5 separate regions of the Homo sapiens genome follow, and all the other regions are linked to region 1. The links are contacts of gene promoters, found by promoter capture Hi-C in blood cells and fetal thymus (Javierre and others, 2016). All regions are on one chromosome and are shown on one strand. The core of a region is centred on a gene start or on the middle of the fragment in contact, and the rest is flanking DNA. Distances in the headings are between cores, read along the strand shown.

The links. Contacts are between HindIII fragments. The CHiCAGO score rates a contact against its expected background, and 5 or more counts as called.
Region 2: a fragment that was not itself captured here is called in contact with the fragment with the promoter of POGLUT3 in region 1 in 1 of 17 cell types (erythroblasts); the score reaches 5.6 in erythroblasts.
Region 3: a fragment that was not itself captured here is called in contact with the fragment with the promoter of POGLUT3 in region 1 in 3 of 17 cell types (naive CD4 T cells, total CD4 T cells and naive CD8 T cells); the score reaches 7.3 in naive CD4 T cells.
Region 4: a fragment that was not itself captured here is called in contact with the fragment with the promoter of POGLUT3 in region 1 in 4 of 17 cell types (naive CD4 T cells, naive CD8 T cells, total CD8 T cells and 1 more); the score reaches 7.8 in naive CD4 T cells.
Region 5: a fragment that was not itself captured here is called in contact with the fragment with the promoter of POGLUT3 in region 1 in 5 of 17 cell types (naive CD4 T cells, total CD4 T cells, naive CD8 T cells and 2 more); the score reaches 7.0 in naive CD4 T cells.

Annotation. Positions count from the first base shown.
Region 1 is chr11:108,497,054-108,499,749 of GRCh38, reverse strand. It overlaps POGLUT3 (protein O-glucosyltransferase 3), which reads left to right and starts at 1,366. Exons shown (of 8, transcript NM_153705.5): 1 at 1,366-1,585. The coding sequence starts at 1,384. It overlaps LOC112267909 (a long non-coding RNA gene), which reads right to left and starts at 689. Exons shown (of 3, transcript XR_007062880.1): 1 at 100-689. RefSeq lists a silencer at 1,214-1,733. The HindIII fragment of the contact is 8,220 bases long and covers 1-2,696 here.
Region 2 is chr11:108,277,912-108,280,607 of GRCh38, reverse strand. ATM (ATM serine/threonine kinase) reads right to left here. Exons shown (of 63, transcript NM_000051.4): 23 at 1,000-1,117. Among named protein-coding and RNA genes, the nearest start is that of ATM, 56 kb to the right of the region's middle. RefSeq lists an enhancer at 2,673-2,696. The HindIII fragment of the contact is 588 bases long and covers 1,062-1,649 here.
Region 3 is chr11:108,334,436-108,337,131 of GRCh38, reverse strand. ATM (ATM serine/threonine kinase) reads right to left here. Exons shown (of 63, transcript NM_000051.4): 55 at 2,023-2,163; 56 at 1,171-1,287. It also overlaps a transcript of C11orf65 not described here. Among named protein-coding and RNA genes, the nearest start is that of ATM, 110 kb to the right of the region's middle. The HindIII fragment of the contact is 3,297 bases long and covers 1-2,696 here.
Region 4 is chr11:108,353,196-108,355,891 of GRCh38, reverse strand. It overlaps ATM (ATM serine/threonine kinase), which reads right to left. Exons shown (of 63, transcript NM_000051.4): 60 at 2,012-2,126; 61 at 1,018-1,081. It also overlaps a transcript of C11orf65 not described here. Among named protein-coding and RNA genes, the nearest start is that of C11orf65, 110 kb to the left of the region's middle. The HindIII fragment of the contact is 171 bases long and covers 1,290-1,460 here.
Region 5 is chr11:108,637,519-108,640,214 of GRCh38, reverse strand. No RefSeq gene overlaps it. Among named protein-coding and RNA genes, the nearest start is that of DDX10, 26 kb to the left of the region's middle. The HindIII fragment of the contact is 2,682 bases long and covers 48-2,696 here.

The DNA.
Region 1 (2,696 bases), core at 117-2,616:
TGGCTTTAAATAAATTCAGATCTATTAACAATCCATTAACAAATTTGTATCCATTAACAAATTGGATAAAATGATCAAAAAAGAGAGGCAGATAGTAACCTTGACAATCTCTTCCTGGATCCAGCGTTCATCTTCTGAGGAGTGGTGGAGGTGGCTGAGACCAACCACGCACCACCACCCCTTCTCCCACTTCGATTACAGAGGCTTTGAGGTAAAGCTCGCACAAGGGCTCAAGGCAAGGCCTGGTCTTCTGCCACCCCAGTGCCCAGCTCCTCACTCTGGGCTTGGCCCAAACTCCGTGGATGTTCTGTAAACACCTGCTGGAAGAAGAGGAGTGCGGGAGGAAGCGGGGAAAGGGATGTGTGGGGTGGGGGGATCACGGTTCTGTGAGGGAGGCTGCTAAGCAGAAAAGCAACAAAACCGGCCACAAGAGAACGGTGCTGCTGTGAACAGAGGGCTGTGAGGGAGGGCGGGGGGCGTGACCTTGGCGCTCATCTTGTAAACTCGGAGACATTCCTTGGGAAAAGATATTTCCCTAAACTACATCGATCTTGGGGCCGGACCCTTTCATCGTCCCACAACAATCACCACCGGGTCTACGTCCTTTAAAAACACCTGAGCGGCGGACCCGGTGGCTCATGCCTGTAATCCCGGCACTTTGGGAAGCCGAGGCGGGCGGATTGCTTGAAACCAGGAGTTCAAGACCACCTTGGGCAACATAGGGAGACCCCGTCTCTACAAATAGTAATAGTAATAATAATAATAATAATAATAATAATAATAATAATAATAAATTAAATTAGCCAGCGTGGTGTCGTGTGCCTACAGTCAGTCCCAGCTACTCGGGAGGCTGAGGCGGGAGGATCTCCTGAGCCCACGAGTTCCAGGCTGCAGTGAGCTGTGGTCGCGCCATTGCACTCCAGCCTAGGCGACAGAGCCAGCCCCCTTGTCTGTATAAAAACAGAGAAAGAAAAGAGAAGAAAGAAGGAAAGGAAGGAAGAAAAAGAAAGGGAAAGACCACTGGAAGTGGAGGCCAGGCGTGCCTGAAGCCTTGGCAATCAACAGCCAGCGCACACTCGCAGCCTCGGTCTCTGGGCGGGCCTCTCCACCCCTTTCCTCCACGGGGCCTATGGGGCTGCGGGGAGGAAGGGGCGCACCCATCGTCGACCCCTACAGGGCGCGCAGTGGGTGATTGCGGCACTGGCTCGCGTTCCCGCCCGAGGGAGACGAGGCGGGACAGCGGGCGGGAAAGGGAGCCTGCGCCGCAATCTTTCCCGCCCGAAAGACCCGCCCCGCGGTGGGCCCCAGTCCCCGCCCGGTCCGCGGCGCTGCCGGCCCCTCCTCGCCGCCGCGGAGCTGGACCGCAGTTGTGCCCCGCCGACCATGCGCCGCCTCCCGCGGGCCCTGCTGCTGCAGCTGCGCCTCGCCCTGCTGGTGGCCGCGGGGGCCCCGGAGGTGCTGGTCAGCGCGCCGCGGAGCCTGGTGTGGGGGCCCGGGCTGCAGGCGGCCGTCGTCCTGCCGGTCCGCTATTTCTACCTGCAGGCGGTCAACTCGGAGGGCCAGAACCTCACTCGCTCTCCCGCAGGTAGTGTCCAGCCGCCGGCCTCCCTCGTCCCGCGGCCGGGTCCCCGCGCGTCCCCGCCGCCCGGGAGTCCGCCCGCGGCCTGCGTGGCGTCCCTCCCCGGCGTGTGTCGCCCCTTTTTGGGTCTGGTCAGCTCCTCTTCCCTCCTCCCGCCCATACTCAAAGCGGGCAAAAATCACCACGAAAGTTTGTGGAATGAATGAATGAATGAACTTGAAGGGCCCTTCCGCATTTAATGTGCAGGGACTGATGTTGCGAATGGACGGCGCCCGGGCGTTACAAGGAGTGTGCCGTGAGTCACACGTTGCCTTCCATCTCGGACTTAGTTGTCTGAACTGTGAGGGATTGCAGGGAGCGCTTTCCAGTGGTGAGTCATCAAGCCGACGGATCGCGTCGGATTACATGGCTTAGGCCTGGTGGGTTTGGAGCAACGAAATCCTACGCAGAGGAAATGTCAGAGCCGTAGGAAGGAGGAGGGGTTTACGTGTTAGTTTTTTGTTTCCTTTTTAGTTCTGAGTTTTTGAAAGCAGATTACAGGAACTAGGGAAACTCAGTAGAAATCATTCGGTTTTCCCTCCACGGAGGGTGAGATGGATCTCGTCCTGAATCCCTTTCTGCCCGGTCCTCCTCCCACGTTGTCCTTCACGTCTTAACCTTTGCAACTTCTTAAAACTTGTCCTGCTGGTTTCACGCTGTTGTCAGTCAGGATTTGCTAATGTATAATTTGGGGCTCTGGCCAACTAGCACCTTGTTGTATCAGCGAAGAGACAATTAGAATAAACCAGTGCCTCTGCCCCTGCTAGTCCAGCTGGGAACATAGCTGCCAGAAGTGTGTCCCAACTTGGGAAAGGGGTAAGGGGGTCTTGACAGCTGGGCAAAGCAGAGAATTTAGGAACCAAACATAATTCACTTTTAGATTTAATGATTTTTAAAATTTCATTCATTCAAGAAATACTTCTTTGATGTCTACTTCTGTGTTTGGTAATTCTGCTGGGAATCTAAGGATGAAAAGACAATGCCTGACCATCAAGGAACTTACAGTCTGTTGGTCAAAGACATGCAAATAACTGATCACTGTACAAGATAATTGAAGGTATGTACAGAGTGCAGTGGC
Region 2 (2,696 bases), core at 106-2,605, 220 kb after region 1:
AAGGATATTTGTTTGGGGGATGGATACCCCATTCTCCATGATGTGATTATTTCACATTGTATACCCGTATCACACACACACACACACCCCTACTATGTACCCATAAAAATTAAAAGATCTAAAAATAAAGCAAAAAGTATAAAAGATCCAAGTTCTTGTATTAACTTTGTTCATGACAATATGCTTCTATTAATGCAGTGTAAGACAGAGTTAGCCTTTTTGGTAACTGTAATACAATGTTGATTCATACTATAATCACAAGATACAAAACTTCCTAGGTCTTTTTCTAAATGAATTGCTGTCAGATCAGTATTTTCCCTTTTTGCAGATGACAGGCTGATTTAAAATGTATAATATACATTATCTCATTAGATTTTATGTTATTTACACTTATCTTTCTAATCTATTGAAATTCTTTTCTAAACTCACATTCTTTCAATTGTTCCTTTCAATTTCCTGCTATCACAGACTTGACAGTTATTTAACTACCTTAAATACTTGTAAGAAACAAACCAGGGCATAAATAAATGAAAAAATTTGAACTCTAAGATAATCATTACCATAAAAAATATATTATTCTACAGAAACGTGAAATATCACAAGTTTCACTGTAAACACCACAATGATTTGATTTTGTGTGAGATTCTTCTCCTCAATCCATTTCTTCCCATTGTCACCTGTTCCCTTAATTAGCTTTTAATCAGATCACATATAAAAGGATTTTTAAAATAAAAAAGGGAGCCATTTATACTCCCATAAAAACTCAGTTAAATTTTGGGTTTCTCCATAAAAATGCTAAACCAAAAGAAATTGCTATGATTTGACCCATTGTGACCCAGAAAGAATGCAGTTTCAATCAATTCATACAGTTGTTTTAGAGCAGCTTTATACTGTAAACTACTGGATTATAAACTCTCTTATACCAAACTTGGTGAAGTAATTTATGGGATATTCATAGCAAGCATATGATAACAGCAAATACATGTTACTTAAAATTACCATTTCTCTCATTCCTTCCTGAGCTTTCAAGTATGCATTTTCAAAAGCTGTTTGCTGAAGCTTCAAAGGAAGTGCTTTCAGTAACCTGGAAGAATCTCCCTTCGTGTCCTGGAACAATCTTAAAACAAGCAAGCAAACAAACAAACAAAAAGTGAAATAATTTTCTAATTTCAAACCCTACTTTCCAAAGCATATTCCAGAACAAAAATAAATCACTCTGTGAGACATAATAACATACTAGCTCTTTCTTAAAGACTAACAAAACCTGAGTTTATTTAAAGAGGTTCAGACCAGCAGCTTAGTATTAAGGTCTTGAATACAAAATCTATTTTCTCCTAGAACTGAAGAGGGTCTCAAAATATATTTTAACTATTGCTCAAATTTGAACAGCACTGAACTCAAACTAGCCAGAAAAGATAAACTGTTCTCTGGCCGAACACCAATTAGTTGAGTCCACAGATTCCAATGTCAACCTGCTCTAACATTTAATCACTCTGAAAGCGGGTAAGTTAATGTTTTTATGTACCATTTAAATTTTGTTTTATGTGATGGAAAAAAGTTGATCAGTACACCTTTTGCGTAACACCCACATATTTAAGGATAACTCTTTAATCAACTTTGTCTTTTATCCTTTTTTAGTAATCGAAGCTTTTATAATTGTTTATGTTCCTCTGATTCTTCTAGTTTCACTCACTGCTCTTAAAATAGCTGAACATTAGATATCTGCTATTGTCTGAATGTTTAACCCCTCCAAATGTCATGTTGAAATCTGATCCCCATTAGGTTATGCCTAATGGGAGGTGTCGGAGTCATGGGGGCAGATCCCTCACGAATAGATTAAGGCCTGAGGGTAAGGAATGAGTGAGTTCTCACTATTCAGTTCCCACAAGGGCTGGTTATTAAAAAAAAGAGCCTGGCATGGCCTTCCCCGCCTCCACCCTTGCTTCCTCTCTCACCATGTGATCTCTGCACACACTGATTCCTCTTTGCCTTCTGCCATGAGTCTGAGGCCCTTACCAGATGTAGACGCCATATGCCAAATAAACCTCTTTTCTTTGTAAATATCCAGCCTCAGGTATTCCTTTATAGCAACACAAAGGGACTAAGACAAAATCTAACAAGTGTAAAATTAAAAAAAAGAATGCTACTTGCATGTTATTCTTGAATTTATACTTTTTGAATCTTCAGTTTTTTTAATGCCACCACTACACTGCCGCCTTATTACATTCAATTCAGTCTTATATTACCTCAGTCCTTAAAGTTCAGCATACATTTGCTTTTATCTGTGAAATTTAATAAGGGCTTGAACTACTAAACATATTCATTAGAAATCCTTGCAATGCATTATGGTCTTACTAAAAACAGTTCCAAACCTGAGGAGTTAGACACAAAATCTAGTTTATGAAAACATTACTGTCGGCATATTCAAATACTGAAATATTAGTTTTAATACTTTATGTGACTGCTGAACAATATAGTAATCTTTTATTATTGATTGCTTACATTTTAAAGTTACTCAAATGATTTTCAGCTTTGATGTTTTTGAAGCATCATGTAATTTTTTTTCAAGTACATTCATTTATTTTAAAACAGTTATTGGATACCTATCACATGCCAAGTATTGTTTTAGGTGCTAAAAATACAACAATGAACAGAACAGACAAAAACCAGTGCCTTTAGGAACATATATACTAGTG
Region 3 (2,696 bases), core at 89-2,588, 160 kb after region 1:
AACTCAAGCAGCATTTTGGAGGGTAGATCTAATTTATTCTTCTTCACTCCCCTATTTAGGGCTTTTAATTTAGCCATTATTTTAAAAATAAAACACGTTCATAGTGGAAAACTAGAAATATATAAAAAAGCACATGTCACCCATAGTCCCTGTTACAACATTTATAGAAGGAGAAAGTTTAAAAATGAGGTACAGGAATGAAATCACAAAAGACAAACCTATGGAAAATAGGCCCTTCAAAATAAGGATTTATTGTTATTTCTAAACTGGTTAAATGAATAATTAATATAAGAGTCAAAGATGATCAGCTCATAGAATGTGACTGAGGATTGTCTTCTCAGGCAAATAGCTAGAGGAAATGTAAGTGGGTACACTCCCATTGAGAGTAATTTGGCAATATGTACCAGATTACAGATGCATGTATCCTCTAACCCAGCAATCCAACTTTTGGAAATCCATGCTACAAATTTGCCTGCGCATGTATGAAATTTGTATGTTCAAGGTTATTCACTACAATACAGCGTTGTTTGTAGCAGCAAAAGACTGAAAACAACACAAATGCCCATCGATAAGGACTTGTATAAAAAACTACATACATACACACAATGCAGCTGTTAAAAAATGAGAAAGATTTCTGTGACATATTGTTGAGTAGAAAAAAAAGGAAAAAATACTTCAGTTGACTATAAGAAACACCTAACTATAATTAACATTAATAAATACTTTTTACAAAGAAAATAAATCTTTATTATTTGGTCCTTCACAGAAAACATTTGTAGACTCCTGGTCCAAATAATGGCATCTTCTTCTTCTTCTTCTTTTTTAAACGGGATCTTGCTGTGTTGCTCAGGCTGGACTGGGGCTCACTGCAGAGTTTGAGCTCACTGCAGCCTCAAACTCCTGGACTCAAGTGATCCTCCCACCTCAGCCTCCCATGTAGCTAAGGGACTACAAGCACATGCCATCATCTCTGGCTTTTTTTTTTTTTTTAACTTTTTGTCAAGATGGGGTCTCACTATGTTGCTGAGGCTGGTCTCGAACTCCTGGCCTCAAGCAATCCTCCCACCTTGGCCTCCCAAAGCATTATGAATATGGGCATGAGCCACTTCACCCAACCAAATGGCATCTTTTATATGTTTTTGGTGAACTAACAGAAGTACAAATAGTTACCTTATAAGTACAGATAGTTAATTTCCTCTTCCTAGTTTCCGTGTTTCTCTGCAGTAATGTATTACACATCTGGAAGACCTGTTGCATGACAGCATCTTGTCTCAGGTCATCACGGCCCTTCAGAATAATTAAGCATGAATAAACAAGTACAGTTTATTTTATTATAAAAACACAGAGTCATCTGAGAATAGCAAAGGGCACTCAAACCAATCTGAGCATCTGTGCACCTCTTGACAGTCTCCCAAATAATTAAATACCTACTGCCATTCTTTCATTTAGAATAAGCTACAACATTTACACTGATTTAGAAAGTTTCCCCTCGCTACTTCTGTAATTAGATTAACTGGAAGTCCCCCCTAGGAAGGCATACTGCAAACACCTGAGTAAAACAGCACTGTGTCTTTCCACCACTCCCCAGTAGGACCCAAAGAGCTCGTCAGCAAATGGTAAGGGAAGAATGCTCTCCCTTTTTGGTACATTAAATAGCACTTGGCACAGTACGAGACCCGGTATACTGATGCAAAGGACGTCAACTTGCACTATTCAAGGAAATAAGAGACAGACACCAAAGTATTTTTTTTCATAAGAAGCAACCTCACTGTACATGTCTGTACATGTTAATGGTATTCTTTTACTTGAATCAACCATATAATAATGATTGTCTTTCAGAGACACAAAAAAAATGGAGAAAAGCCTGGTTCTAGAAAATAATGCATTTCTACTCTACAAATCTTCCTCATTTGTAAGTATTCAAAATAAAGACAAAATCCCAAATAAAGCAGAAAGAAAATATGAACTAAAAATTTTCATCACTAAAACTCTAAGGGCTAAGCCAGAGAAGGGAAGGCTCACCTTAACAAGCTGTCTCCTCTCCTTGCCATCGGAACCTACACAATCTATTATTTTTGGTAAATTTACACCTCCTGCTAAGCGAAATTCTGCTTTAAATGACTGTATAGTCACCAGATTTCCATATTCTCCTGTGTGGTCCACCTAATAAAAGTATAAACATGATTGATAATAGGTCAGATACACTATTTGCACTTAAAGAAAAATACATTATAAATGGCAATTTTAATATTAAACAGAGAAACAAATGACGATGTGATAGTGGTTAAGAACTACAACTTTAGGCCGGGTGTGGTGGCTCACGCTCGTAACTTTAACTACTGTTTCATCAAAGATTCACTAATATATGTAAAGTCATCTGAGAAATAACTCCTCACGAAAACATAAAGTAAATTTTGGAAAACAGTAGAAGGAGTTTTCTGGGTTATAACTGCTAAATCTGGCATTTTAAGGAAACATTCAGCGAAATCACCTAGCTGATATAGCTAGAAAAACAGCAGTTAATCCACATGATACAGCTACATTTCAAATCAAGTAACTAGATACTAAGCACTAAACTGCAAAATGAAAAGAAAGACAATGTATTTAAGATGATCATTTTCTAAACTTATAACCCTTATTACATATATCCCTGCCCACATGAAATTACTTCCATTATTTCTTGCAATAAAAGAATA
Region 4 (2,696 bases), core at 126-2,625, 140 kb after region 1:
GTGCACACAGGACCACCCTGATGGACTGTTACTCATCTTCCAAGGGATAAAGCCCCACCCTTATTGACCACAGGCTTAATGGTTAATGCCAATGAATTAAGACAGTTCTCATATCCTAGTTGAACAGTAGGAGAGATTTTTAAAAATGCACATATTCCTGCCCCATCTCTAGAAACCTGGTTTGAATTTGATCAGCATCAATGTTTTTTAAATGCAGTAAAAGTAATACTAACATGCAGCCAGTCCAACATAAATCAGGTTAAAGGAAGAAAAGCTGAGTAGTGGAAAAGTGGCAAGCCCATACTGCACTCTACCTGCCATGCTTCCCTGGGGAGGCCACACTCCTGATTTCTTGTCTCACATACCCTTACCAGATTGGTGAATGACTGGCATAGGTACTAACAGCACAGACACTGAAATTTGTTTGACTTCCTTTTTTCTGCCCTGGATCAAGACAAGGCAGTGATCCTGATTACATGTGTTTGCTCTGCAGGCCCAAACCCTATTCAGGTGAGCTGTCCCAAAGTTAAGACAGCAGAGAGGTACTGAGGTAGCACCAGCAGTAAACTAGTCTGGCCCTCATTCCTAAGCCATGTTCCTCTAGTAATGATGCTGACAATTTGATCTCCATTTGTCTGACTAATTAGTTCTGAACCTGAGCAGGGAAAAAGGAGATATAAATTTCTGATTTTTCTTAAACCCTAATGGAAACCATTCTGAAAATAATAATACCATATGGAATATCTAAATGTCAAAGAATTGATTTATGAATTGAAAACTAGAGACTACTTACAATGCTCTAACATTCCAAGAAACTCAAGGGGGCTGAAGGCATTTCTAAACCAGTATTTTTGGATGTGTGAAAAGGCTAAGTGCACAATCTCCTCCTTTCTGCTGCCCAGCCACATCCCCCTATGTTAAAATGAAGCAGTGCTCTTCACATCAGTGACTTCCTGATGAGATACACAGTCTACCTGGTAAGAAAAAAAATAAAGTCTTCCTTATAAAATACTTTACCTCTACAATGGTTAACAGAGTTTCCTGAGAGTTTCTCATCACTTCCATGGTTTTCTCACAGCATCTAGAGTCAAACACATTATAAATACGGATTTTGTTACACACCAATGTTGTCAACGTATCTTTATCTGTATACTCTCATGTGTAGTATGCTGAGCCTATGCTTAATAATCTACATATCTGTATCTCAAAATAGCATAATACTTGGCAGAGTGGGCTTTCATTAGACGTTTGAAATGAATACAAATATGTATTTGACTATTTCACAAGCTTGGCATTTACAAGAATAACACAACACTATTGATTACAGGCATGCACCACTGGGCTCAGCTCTCAGTCTTTGATTATTGTGGCAATTATTAGTTTACACTGACTGCAATCTGCCCCAATCCAAGTTGAGTACACAGACCTATGCTGGGAAAACTACAAGGAACTGCAAAGCTTTTTTAGTAGCACAATGTTATACTAGAACACAAGCTCCTATAAATAAAAATGTAGTCTCTTCTATATGCACAGTGATGAGCACCCAATAGTAGTTTGGATCATTAAGAAGGAGTCAGCCAGGATAGAGGTGTTAAAAGTAAAGGTGGGATGCTTCCAGAGGAGGTTTGGAATAACAGTATGTATGTTACATGGGCTTAGGTCCCAGGTGGGTGGAAGGAAGAGGAACTATTATTGCTTTTACCCAGGGTCTTTTCCTTAGTATTGATAAGGCACTGGAATACGATTCTAGCACTAAATTCTATAATCTATACAAATCTCTAACCCGTGTGTGTGTGTGTGTGTGTGTGTGTGTGTGTGTGTTTGTGTGTGTGTATTTTTTTAGATACAGGGTCTTGCTGTATTGCCTAGGCTGGACTCAAACTCCTGGGCTCAAACAATCCTCCCACTTCAGCCTCTTGAGCAGCTGGGATTACAGGTGCAAAGAACCATGCCCAGCCCATGTAATTTTGACATCAAAAATTATTTCCCTCCTTTACTTCATATCACTTACCTTCTGAAGACACCTTCAACACCCGTAATGCCCATGCCATCCACAATATCTCTGGTGAGTCTAAAAGGAACTGTCTCAGGAGTAGGAAGGATTTTGCCCTGTTCAAAAGCAACACCTAAAGTAAAGAATACAGTGAAGTTAGGAGGTTTGACAGCTAATTTACTTTCTTTCCAGTTAGAATGTGAACTTTACAAAGGCAAGAAACCACATGTTACCTACGTTCTATGAACACTAGTATGTACAGTAGTTTACTTCTGCTCTGGCTGCCTTCCTCATCTTTGTCACTGTCTGTGAGATCCACCTCAAATCCAAATAACCTAACTACTTCTTAACCCAACTAGAGAAATCTAGGTTAAAGGGTGATTTTTAAAAATGAAGTAACTACTGGTATAATTTAAAATGGAGATGATATATTTATATTTAAAAAATTTTTAGGCTGGGTGTGGTGGCTCCCGCCTGTAATCCCAGCACCTTGAGGCTGAGGAGGCCTGACACCTGAGGTCAGGAGTTAAGAGACCAGCCTGGCCAACATGGTGAAACCTTGTCTCCACTAAAAATACAAAAATTAGCTGGGTGTGGTAGCAGGTGCCTATAATCCCAGTTACTCGGGAGGCTGAGACAGGAGAATCACTTGAACCTGGGAGGTGAAGGATACATGGAGCTGAGATCGTGCCATTGCACTCCA
Region 5 (2,696 bases), core at 139-2,638, 140 kb before region 1:
CAACTACCTGTTTGACAACTCCACTTGGATGGCTAAAACTTCAAGCTTAACATGTCCAGCTTAGCCTTAAGCCCTGATAAGTTCACTCCTTCAAACCATTCCTCTCAATCTGCTCCAGCTCAGCTTATTACAATTCAATCCTTTGAGTTTCTCAGGTTAAAACTTAGTGTCACTCTTAAATGGACATCCTCACTCCATTTATAAATTGTGTTAGCTCAACCTTCAAAATATCTTCAGAATTCAGTTTTTTTTAAACAACCGGGCCATTGTTGAGATATCTTCAGAATTCAGTAACTTTTTATTACTGCCACTACCACTAACCTGGTCCCACCCACCTTTCTCTTCCTTCTCTCACATCATTGCATTAGCCTCTTACTGTTCTCCTAATTTCTATCATTGTTACCTCCTGTCTCTTCACACAGCAGGTAGAGTGATCCTGTTAAAATCTGAGTCTAATCATGTCACTCCCCTGCTCAAAACTCTCCATGGCTTACGGTCCCATTCAGAGTAAAAAGTGAGGTCCTTATTATGACCTGTAAGAACCCCATGATCTGACTTCCTGTGTTCTCTTTGACCTCATTTTTTACTACTTTCCCCCTACTCTCTGAGCTCTGGTTATACCAGCCTCCTTGCTCTTCCTTGAACACACCAGGCATGTTTTCAACATTAGGGTCTTTACATCTACTATTCCTTCTGAAGCTGGCTTCCTTACTTCCTTTAAGTCTTTTATCAAAAATCCCCTTTTCTTAGCCAGAGCAACATAGTGAGACCCCATCTCCACAAAAAATAAAAAATTAGCTAGGTGTGGTGGTGCATGCCTGTAGTCCCAGCTCCTCAGGAGGCTGAGTCAGAAGGATTGCTTGAGCCCAGAAAGTTGAGGCTGCAGTGAGCTATGACTGCATTGTTGCACTCCAGCCGGGCAACAGAGCAAGACCCCATCTCAAAAAAAGACAAAATTATCTTTCCACAAAGGCCTTTTACCATGTATATTTCCTCTTATTTTTGTCCATTGCACTAGAATATTGGTCATATGAGGGCAGGGAATTTTTTTCTGTTTTGCTCCCTGCTGTATACCCGTACCTAGAACAGCACCTGGCACACAGCAAGTGCTCCATAAATATTTGTTGAGTAAAAACTACACGAATATCATTCCTAAGTAGAGTTGGGAGTTCCCACAGCAACTCTGATTTTCAATTAATGCAATCCAAAGTTTCTCACATGCCTCACTTTGGTTCTGAGTGCCCAGCTGTCAGTGCAGCCTAGACCCAGAGTTCTGCTGCCAGGCAAAGACCAGAGCAGAGACTCAGAAGTATCTGAGAGAAGAAGCATTCACAAAGTCTGTGTTTCAAGTTTTACTAGGATGCCAAAGCCCTATGGGGTTAAATTCAGTTGGAAATCTCTTTCGACCTTTCATTCTGCTCCTATATTGGCACGTTTGTGATTTCCATCTCTGCCCTCAGAGCACAGCAATTGAGATACTCCTGTCTTTTTGATAAGTTTAGACATTTGTGGTGTTATTCCAGGTCTTCCTTGACTGTATCTTCCTTTTCCATTTCCAAAAAGTGCTCTGTCTTCCTGTCACCTTAATGCTGAGATGAGAGAGAACTTTGTCCAGTGATTTAGCCTCAAATTCTTTTGAGCAGACACTTTTATTCTGAGCCTCAGAAGCTGCAGAATTACTCAGAACTTTTTAGTAGGCTGATAAAGTTCATTGTGAATCTCCAAGAAAGAAATATGACTATTTCTCAAATTTACGTGACCATTAATAGCATCTTTATTGCAGAACAAAAATAATGTCCCTTGGAAAATAGATTGGAAAATTACTTGACAATTAATCATGCATTTTACAAATGCAAGATTTTTCTCCCCTAATTTTCTCACATACTTTACTGCGAACTCAAATGATGACTTCTCTATTAAACTTCTCTTGGTCAACCCAGGAAGAAAGTTTCAGGATTTCTATAGGGTTTATCACAATCTTTTTTGGGCCACAGCTTTATTGAGATTCAACCATTTAAAAGTGTGTAATTTAATAGCTTTTAGTATATTCACAGAGTTGTGCACCCAACACCACAATCAATTTTAGAACATTTTCATCGCATCAAAAAGAAGCATTATACCCTTTAGCTACCACCCTCTCCAATCTCTCTATTCCCACCAGCTCTAAGCAAATTTCAGTCTACTTTCTGTTTATATATATACTTGCCTATTCTGCACATTTCACGTAAATGGAATTATACAATATGTAGCCTTTTGTGACTGGCTTCTTTCTCTTAATGTTCTCAGGTCCATCTATGTTGTAGCATGTATCAGTACTTTATTTCTTTTTACGGACAAGCAATATGCCATTGTATGGATAAACCATGTTTTGTTTATGCATTCATCATAAACATTCTGGTATAATGCTGTTTTGTTTATGCATTCATCATAAACATGCTGGTATAATGCTGGTATAAACATTCATGTACAAGTTTTTATGGGGGCATATGTTTTCATTTCTCTTGCATACACTCTTAGCATCACAGTTTTTTGGAAACAAATGGAATAAGGACATTCTCCTGCTTGAAATCTCCAGCTGGCTTCCTATTGCACTTATAAGAGTCCAAACTCTTTACCAAACCTTTCCAGATCTTCGTATTCTGGTCCTAGCTACATCTCCCATCTGATCTCCTAAGTCTCCCTGCTCACAATACTTC